Linked DNA regions of Homo sapiens: region 2 is linked to region 1. Evidence: promoter capture Hi-C in 16 types of primary human blood cells and fetal thymus (Javierre and others, 2016). All regions are on one chromosome and are shown on one strand. Each heading gives the region's core, a stretch centred on a gene start or on the middle of the fragment in contact. The rest is flanking DNA. Distances are from core to core; before and after follow the strand shown. Region 1 holds the start of PLCL1 (phospholipase C like 1 (inactive)). Region 2 overlaps LINC01923 (long intergenic non-protein coding RNA 1923).

Region 1 (4,922 bases), core at 777-3,276:
CAACATTTTGCAAGTTATATGCTGTACTTTCTGGCCTCTGTTTTTTTTTAAATCACTGACCTTGAATGTTTGTTAATAAAGTGATGCTAATTTTAAAATTTGTAAAAATAAATTATTATCATAATGGTACACAAATCTGTAGGATGAGGAACTTATAAATGACATTAATATCCTATAACAAGATAATGAGTGAGATAAAGGCAGTTTTACATTTTTCAGAGGACAACCGAAGAATGGGACTTTTATTAGAGTAACAAAGAAAAATGAAGCACTGACAACTGTAAATGACAGAAGTCAAATGTAATAATAGTTGAATATCAAAGAAAAAAATGATAGCCTAAAATAAGATATATTTCTGAGGATAGCAATTAAAAATATTTCCTATATAGCATAGACAGGAATTCCCTGAACTAAAGGAGATGGAAGACATGTATGGTTGTTTTAAGTCTGGGTACACTTTATTTTCTTCCTCTAGTCTGTGCGTTGTAAAGGCATACCTGTTGAAAAGGAAACTTTTGTTGGGTTACCCCTCCTGTCTTTTAAAGATGAGGGGGAAAAAGAAGCCTTTGCTGTTATGGATGCAGTTCTCAGAATCTCACTAGAGGGTGGTGTTGGTTCTAAAACCAGAGGTCACTGCTACTCTCTACAGTACATTCATTACTAGGCTGCATTTATGTTTAAAGAAAAGGCAAAGTCAAGCCTTCTCAGTATTCCCTAGTAGTTGATAAATGTCAAATCTGAAACCTCCCAAGTGCCCCTGCCAGTTCTGGCTGGTTGTAGCCCAGAGGAGACAGATAAAGTAGTGAAGAGATTATCGGAGGAGTTGGGTGGCTGATTCTAATTTTGGCTCCTGCACTAACTAGTAGACAAGACTCCCTGGGCCTTTGTCTCAACCGTAAAACAAAAATGATGTCCTAGTTGATCCCTAAATCCCCATATATCTCTAAAATTATGAGATTCAAACCAAATTGTTGGTCTAAAATGCTGAATAATTTCTCATGCTGTTAGCCAGACTAAGGAACAAGTAAAATCTCAAATTATTAAATTATTAATAAGATAAAATGTAATGTTATAAGTGAGGTTTAATATAGATTCTAATATCAAAGGAGTTTAAAATTAAAATGCCAAGTCTTTTGTCTTACCAGGGAGCCTTAGGACCATGGTTTGCATCTGAGCATTCTGTGGATAATTTCAGTGACTTAACTCATCATCCAAAGATCTCTCCCTTCTTGGTTGCTAGCTTACTGGAAATGAGCAAAATATGTTTTTATATAGGATTATATAGAGAAAGGAGGCTGAACCATTGTCAAATAGGAATGTTTTAGGATAGAGACTAAACTCCCCACCTGCATTTATCTGACTTGGATTATATCTGTGCTTTTTAAGAGTCAGTCTTCGGAGGGATTTAGTTGGTTCAGTTTCCTTTCACCCTCATCTCTTTCACTGACTCCCTTTCCTTGTTATATTTACTCACACTGCAGAATGACCTTAGAATCCTTTCCTGGAACCTGAAGCAAATTATGGAACCCCAAGATCCCAGTAAACCCTAGTTTATCTCTGCATGGACTTGACTTCTAAGAATTGGCCTGAGAGCCTGCAATTAACCTGTGACCACGCAAAGCTTCACCCCGTCACCCCAAACGCTTAGACATTCATACTCAATACCCACTTTCCTCCAAATTGCTTTGTTTGGCAGAAGAAGGTTTCTTTCTCCCCTCTCCTTCACCCAACCTGGATTTTTGTTGCATCTCAGGCTCATTTCGCAAATCTAAACTTCCTAAAATATACACGGAGCGCCTCCGGGTTTGCACACGCGCGCGCGCGGGTACACCCTGGCTCGAGTACATTAGCCCCGCTGGGCCGGCTCCCAGTTGCAGAACACATTCCATTCTTCGCGCTCGGGCACACCCCTCCGCAGTGAGGATTGGTCGGGCCGAGCCCCCTCGGCGAGGCGAGGCTCCTAAGAGGCCCAGACGCCTGCCAATCCCCAAGGGCTGTCAAAACAAGTCTCCCTCCCTGTCACAACAGAGCTGAGTGGAGGCCGCCGCCGCCGCCGCACTTCCTGGGACCGCTGCGCCGCAGTCCGCGGGCAGGTGGCGGGTGCGCCCGGCCGCAGTCGCCCGGCTCTGGCCCCTATCGGGCCGCCGGCGTCCGGGCTCCAGAGGCCGCCTGGCTGGGCGCCCGGTGCCTTTTGTCTGGCGCAGGGCCGGCGTTTGCATCACATTTCGGATACCTCCCTCTCTTTTTCGCCTCTCCTTCTGCCTCCCGCTCACATCGCCTCCCCACTCCCGCCACCGTCCCCCGCCGGACTGCTAGCCTCCTAGACCGAAGCCCGAGGACGTCTCTGCCCGAGCGATGTCCCCTCTCCAGAAAGTTGCCGCCGCCGCCGCCGCCGCCGCCACTGCCGCCGCTGGGCGGTGAAACAAAGTCTGGCGGGGCCGCCTCCCGGTGCAGGAGCGCACCGGTGCCTAGCGGCTGGACTCCGCTGCCGGGCGTCCCGCTTTCCCCCGGGGAGCCCTAAACGCTCCAGGCCATGGCCGAGGGCGCGGCCGGCAGGGAGGATCCGGCGCCGCCCGACGCGGCGGGGGGCGAAGACGACCCCCGAGTGGGCCCGGATGCCGCCGGGGACTGCGTGACGGCGGCCTCTGGGGGCCGGATGAGGGACCGTCGCAGCGGGGTCGCACTGCCAGGCGCCGCGGGGACCCCAGCGGACAGCGAGGCGGGCCTCCTGGAGGCAGCACGGGCGACCCCCCGGCGCAGCAGCATCATCAAGGTAAGCAAAGCCGCGCCGCACCGGGAGCGTGGCTGTGGGTGATGGGTGGGTCAGGGACCCGGGCAGGATGTGCGGTGTCCGGAGGCATCCGGGCTCAGCATTGTTTTCTCCCACCTCCTTCAACGCCAAACCTTCCTTCCTTATCCGGAGGTTCCCAGACTCAGCTGTCAGCCACGAGACGCACAAGTGACTTTTTCTCCCCACTGACGGCAGAGGAAAAGTTCCGCTCTGCGTCTTTGCGTTCTGATGGATGCTTTCCCTCATTTTCTCTGCAAGCTTCACTAAACCGTTGATGGAGGGAGGAAGGGAGAACTCTGGATAAATGCAGACCCACCGGATGGTTGTGCATTGCTTTCCAATGAAGGGTTAGCTTTTCCCATACAATGAAGAAAATGCACAGCTTACTCTCAAGTGTAAAAAAAGAATCCCTCTAGACTTAAATGATCCCGAAATCCCAAGATGTGTGAACTTTCCCGGTAGGGAGGCAGAGTTTTAAGTGGACCCTGCATCACAGTAAAGAGCAATGCAAGAGCCCAGAGTTTTTGCGCTGCAGAAAGCACAACCGGAAAGCAATCAATCCCCCAAGCATTATCACTGGTCCTTGTGGTTACCACCACATCCAGGGAAAACGCTTCCTGACCCGCTAATCACCTCACAGAATTTCTCTCCATCCATTTGGCAAGGAATTTGTAAACCTCTTTCCTCCCCTTTCTCTTTCCATCTTCCTTCCACTTGGGGCTTGTTTCTTCTGTTCGAGATTTCCTCTTTTGGGAGCATGACTTTGGGGTAAGGTTATTTAGGAAAGAACCCTCGCACAGGCTCTGGAAAAGGGCCTCAGTGTAAATGCATGTGAGTAATCAATCAAATGTATGTCAGATTAAAATTGATTTTGGTGGAGCAGTCAGTATAAAACGATATGTATGTATGTATATATGTAAGTATATATGTGTGTGTGTACATACACACACACACATCCCTCAATGACAATGAAAGATGGACTTTTACTTACTATTGAATTTATTGGGTTCACTAATATATTCAAAAGCTCTGTTCAGGGTTAAGCTGCGTAACCAGTGCATCACGCATGTTGCAAGCTCCCAGCACCAGCTTAGGTAGACTAACCACAGAATGTGGCTCCAGTAAAGTCTTTTTCCCAACACTGACACATGGAAGTTTAAAATCAGTGGAGAGGTTTCTATAATATATAAAGAAGAGTGGGTGGTAATTACAAATGGCTTGTAGTAGTTTCTGTTATTTTGTGGCTTTTTGATTATGTAACAGGAGTGTTCTATTCTGGGTGTGAATTTGGACAAAGGGAAATTACTATTTTGTTTTTAACCCACAGGTCAGAAAGCACACTGTTTTCAAACTTAAAAAACATCACAATTAGGAAACACATACATTTTGGATTCTACTGTATTGATACTACATGGTGTCCTGTGTGTGTAAAACAGGCACTGCAAGAGACTTTAAAATATATGACAATAAAGAGCAAACGGCTCTATAATGTTGTAAAAAACAAAAGTAATGGAGTATAAGGAATATACAAATTCTTGCAACTGAGTTTGCCACTTGTGAATTGTACTATGCTGGTTTATATTCTCAGAAGGGTCATTGCTGAGTAATGGTGCCTCTTTTGTTTTGAAGTTTCTTTTTGTGACAAAAAAGGAGGGAGACAACAGAATATTAACTTGATTTTTCCCCTATTTAATAGTAAATGCAATTAACATTTGGTAAATGGCCTTTAAAATTAAAGATATTAGAAAATAAAGTGAATTATTATGTTAGGTTTTTATTGGAAAAGTAGCACATACATATAATTTAAAAAATCAAATGTTGCAAAGGAGTGTGAAGGAAAGACCCTCAGACACTCCACATTCCCACTTATGTAGTCCACCCTCATAGATGTTAACACTTTCTTATGTATGCTTCCAAAATATTCCATGCATGTGTAAGCAGATATATCTATATGTGTCTATGATGAACTATAGCAGCTCCTGATTTCTACAAAAAAATCTGGCTAGAGTTTTACAAGTCTCATAGTTTTAAGCATTTTTGAAGCCTAGAGGGGGTAATCTGGTAGGTCTTTGGTGGGCAGCAGTCATTGGGGTCTGTTCCCAGAGGCCTTAACGCCCTTCTAAGGAGAAAA
Region 2 (4,922 bases), core at 1,163-3,662, 520 kb after region 1:
TATAATTATTCTGTTATTTATTCATTTTAGTTGTTTAAACTTTACATGTTGGGAAAAATTAGGAGCAACTGCCGTTGTCTCTTCTCCTTCTTTCTCTGCATCTCCTCCTGTCCTCCTCTCGGTCCCAAAGTCACTTGCTCAGTACTGGCCCCTGTGGTGGGTTTGCCAATTGGCCGTATGCACCTAGAAATGGTGTTTCACTTTCCTCATCTATCCGTTATTCTCTTTCGTTGCCTAAACTTTCAAACAGTTTGAGGTTCAGAATATGTTTTATTGTGATGAGTCTTTTAAAAGCAGGCACAGAGATATGGATTAATTTTATAAAAAAAAGGAAAGGATATTATTTGATGGTGGTAAAATTTTTGTATGCAAGGTCTCATTTTCCCATTTGCTTGAATTACAATTTCAAAAACTCTTTAGGTTTATTTCAAATATTTTTTTCAGATGGAAAAATTTCTGAATGTTAAGCTTTTACATTTTTATCTCTAATCCATCTTCCCCACTCCTCTATCACTGACCTACAAATGAAATCAACACTTAAATGCAAAGGCACAGCAAGTTTCTCACATTCAGTTATCACCTTGGAGCCAAGCAACTTGGTTTTATTAAAATTTTATAAAGTTTAACACTTTATCATGACATAGTAGATTTATTCAATTTTTATACATTTTATAATAGTTTAAATTTTTATTAAGAAATAATTATGAATATTTGTTCTTTCATGTTATCCAAATATTTATAAAATCATAATTAGGATATGAAAAAATGCTTTTCTTCTTTGAAATTTTTCAATGAGTCCTGGTGAGTTCAAAAACTAACCTATTCTTCTGTGTCACATTAAACATAGAAATGTGGCTTTTGGGACTGGACACAATGAATCCTTCTCAGACAGTAAAATTTTCATTAGGAGAATAATAAAATGCTTTTAGCAGCATGAACTATTTCTGGTTTTCTCTACTTGGTAAAGCATCTGCTTTAAATTCCAGGTTGTTTGGCTTATGATTGAGATCATCTTTAATGTCACTGGGATGAACTTTAACAAATCTATAAAAACTTGTTAAAAATAGCAACAAAATTTGGTGAAATTTAGTGGGTATCCTGTGGTATTCATATACACATCATCTGTTTTTATAAGTATAAAAGTAAGATAATACCTCTGGACTTTACTCATAATTACAATATAGCCTCCTTTCATGAACAGAAGAAACATTTGCAAAATTTAGTACAGAAATTTAGGGAGGAGGCGTAGATCTATAGAAGTGGGATCTCAGAAATAGGATTATATTAAATCATTATTCTGATTTTGGTCATGTTATATTTAATTTGAAATAAGCCATTATTTTCCGTGGCATTAATAACTGGTAGTTAAGGAAAAACTGGTTATATAAATAAACTTATAAGTGCAGTTGCCTCACACCTAAGTGATAGAGCTAATCTTGAAAGAGAAAAGTGGCCCAGAGACCTCTTTGTGTGAAGTATCTCAACATATTGCTGCCTGTTATATTGTACCGAACACATGCACTTCTGTTTAGTAATATTTTGGGGAGCTGAGATTTAGGGAAGAAAAGACTGTAGCATCTTTGCAACTAATTCTAAAGTTTTATAGGGTTATTTATTTATTGGTACTGTGATGAACATGCATTATTTGTAATAACATTTTCAGTTTAACATTCCTTTTTTTATTTAACTCTGATTTTTAGACCTTCGAGTTTTTCTTTGCTTTAGCTTGGGAAAACCAAATAAGTGCAAGTTTCCTCCAAGACACCTCATGAAAACATTTTTTTTAAATAAAATCAAGAGTGAAACGAGTCTATATTTATTTGGAAGATCATCTGACTACTGCTAAATGGAGTATCTCAATCTGAAAGTGAAATCTGTTTCACTGCTAAAAATTGCCAAGAGTTTTTTGACTGAGATTTGGGAATCTGCAGAAAATGTAAAAGTTTTTTTTTTTTCTACAATAATCTGTTCAGTGAACAAGCTGTGAAAAATAGTTCTGTATTTTGTCCATGTGATGCAGCAGACGGTAAATTTCCATTTTAAAGAACGATATGAGTAGCTTCTGGCACCCATATCTATTGCCTTACTCGAATCTACTTACACTGAGTTACAACAATGCAGTTTATTATTTCTTTAAAGCAAAAAATAACAAGAGATCTTATATTCTTTTTTTTTCTACCATAGCTCAGCTCTATTCCTCTATCTGGGATCAGAAATGTGAGGGCACTCTGAGGCCTTATCAAATATGCCTTAAAATACCACATAATAGTAAGAAGATACTATTTCCCTGCATTTAATACTTTGCATTTGAAGAGCTTTAAACAATTTACTATTTCTTTCTAAACATATTTTTTGAAGTAGGTTGTCCCGTAATGAATAGTTACTGTAAACTCTTTAAGGATAATTTTTTAAAAAGTATAATTATGATTCTTATACAAACATAAGATGAACATGTGTTAAAGATTTTATTACATTAATTAATGAGGAAAGCAGTAAGATGTTACCTACTCAAAAAAGGATTCAAATTCACATCTACACACATACAGGCAGATAAACAATGCTGAAATGAATTTACAAATAGAAGCAAAATGGATCAATATATGAGGCAATAATGAATTGCATTCTACAGGTCATACCTTATTTGTATTTCTATGAACAAGAATGATTTGCATTATTATTAATTTTCTATAAGTCACAGAGATAGAAAATAACTCAAAGACAACAAAAGGTAGGGATGGCCCAGAAGGGTGTACTAGACAGGATACCTAATAATCTTTTTGGGTTTATCTCAGTTTTACCCAATTTTTACCTAAAGATCCAATTAAAAAGTACTTGTCACTTTTCCCACTGAAATTAATAAATTTTGTTTTCTGATTCACATTTCCCTTTTAAATCAAGTGCCTAGAACAATGTCTGACACATCGTGGTTGATATATATTTGCTGAATAGATGAAATTTTTGTTGTGTCTCCTACTGAACATTTTCCTAATAACCCAGTGGTAGAAATGAGTATGTTATTTTGTCTGCAGATCTCAAGCATGCCAGAAAGATTCTGAAAGAAACTTGGGGCAGCTTTTAAGGTTTTGGTACATATCTTTCTTTCGCCTTTGATCTTTAGAGTCAATGATGCATCAACTAAGGGAGTATGAGAAAAATAAAAGAAAACCATGAGTCAAATGTCCACTGTATTTCCAGTCCTCCATGGCAGAGATATAAACTCAGGTGGGTGAAACTAACATCAGTCTGGCTGTTGGGTGAGTCATCTCTGAGGGCAAGAAATCTTACCTCTCTGAGAACAATAGTGTACCACGCTGGCTTATTGCAAATCATATGCTTATTGTGACTTGGATTTTGATAATGTTAGATTGTCCTGGAGTTTATTTTTGTTCAGACTCAATTTATTTCAACTAAATGATGACCTAGGAAGTATGGTTTCAGGCTTAGCAGAAGGGTTCTGATGCCCGTATAATCCTTTTCTTCCTAATTTGTCTGATGCCTAAAATTCTGCCATTATTATCCCATCTCTTTATCACACTGTGACTTATCAGCTGCAATGATTCCAATTATGTATGTACACATTTTCTTTGGAGAGGCAAAAATTCTTGATGTTTTCAGTTTCCACACTTCATTGGGAAGAACAATTAAAGATCAGGTTGTGATTTGTTGTCCTATTAAGATTTTGAAATAAGTATGTAAGACAACTGGGTGCCAAAGGTGTATGACAGGTCAGAGAAAGGTGAAGTCAGGAATGAGAAAGTACTACAGGACTGAGGTCACTTTCTTCAACAGACTGATGGCACTAACCCTCTTCTTGCTGATATCTCTAAAATATTTTATGCAAAAAATACTGTGTCAGCAGCAGCATCACAAAAGCGGAGGGTATTCTTTTTACCATGGAAAAACTGAAAGGTTTTCATAACTAGCTATTTTGAGTCTTTAGTCATTGAAATACTTTGTTATTTATTAAAAAGTTGGTGACCTTCTGATAGCTTATCACACCGATCACTGGTTTATGGCACACCTAAGATTCTCTTATAGTTTACAAGGTATTTTCATATACATTATCTCATTTAATCTTTATAATAATCCAGTAGTCCCTGGCTGTGAAAAGTGAACTTTGACTCCAAAAGTGTTTTTTTCTCACTCAAGGCAGGCTGTCCTGGGTGAAATAAATGACTGTAACATAATCGTTTTGTTCTCATCAACTATATGAATGGTAGAAGTTGATTACCACAAATTATTTTTGTTGTGGTAGCCCATATCCTGCATGAAGATAATAAAAAAAGAAAAAAAACTCTGCAGTCACAGCCTGATTCATCTGCCATTTATAGGTGTGGTTTAGTCTTTCCTTCCTCTCAAGCTTTTCTGTTACCACTGAAAAAATTAGTTCTATAAACACTTCAAGTCTTGACTCACTGTCACTTTGCACTTTGTCATCCAATATTTTCAGATACAATAAAATTTGTATGAGAGAATCCTGGAACATAGGTTATTCATTATTCTCATCTGTAACTCTCTATTAAAGCAGTAGGAGTTTTGGAATGATATTTGGACTTTGTAAATAATGTAAAGGTAAGCATAAGTGATCTTCTGATAGTTCTTACTCTAAATAGCCAGTGTAACTTTAAACAAGTGACTTACTTTTCTGAAGTGAAAAGAATAATACTCTCAGTTTAGAGCATAAAAGTATTGTGAGGAGTAAGGGCAGTGAAGTATTCTTAGTTAAAATATGTCATTTAAATGTAAAGCATTATTACTATGAAAAGGAATAAGGGACATGAGTTATGTTATGATTAAATTTGCTTTTAAACTCTTGAACCTGAAAGGCCAAAGAAGTCTGTATTTCTGTATCATTGTGTATCCAATAGCTATCTGTCTCAAAAGTGACTTTGAATGGATTTTTATTAAATGAGTGAATAAAT

What was found. The method cuts DNA at HindIII sites, captures the fragments that hold promoters and counts their contacts. A CHiCAGO score of 5 or more calls a contact.
Region 2: a contact is called between a fragment that was not itself captured here and the fragment with the promoter of PLCL1 in region 1, in 8 of 17 cell types (naive CD4 T cells, total CD4 T cells, megakaryocytes and 5 more). The highest score is 8.0, in naive CD4 T cells.

Annotation. Positions count from the first base shown.
Region 1 is chr2:197,802,567-197,807,488 of GRCh38, forward strand. PLCL1 (phospholipase C like 1 (inactive)) reads left to right here and starts at 2,027. Exons shown (of 6, transcript NM_006226.4): 1 at 2,027-2,773. The coding sequence starts at 2,534. LOC105373828 (a long non-coding RNA gene) reads right to left here and starts at 1,980. Exons shown (of 4, transcript XR_001739850.3): 1 at 1,143-1,980. RefSeq lists a silencer at 2,074-2,203. The HindIII fragment of the contact is 1,428 bases long and covers 1,620-3,047 here.
Region 2 is chr2:198,322,325-198,327,246 of GRCh38, forward strand. The region is part of intron 2 of LINC01923 (long intergenic non-protein coding RNA 1923); the gene reads right to left. Among named protein-coding and RNA genes, the nearest start is that of LINC01923, 50 kb to the right of the region's middle. The HindIII fragment of the contact is 3,892 bases long and covers 467-4,358 here.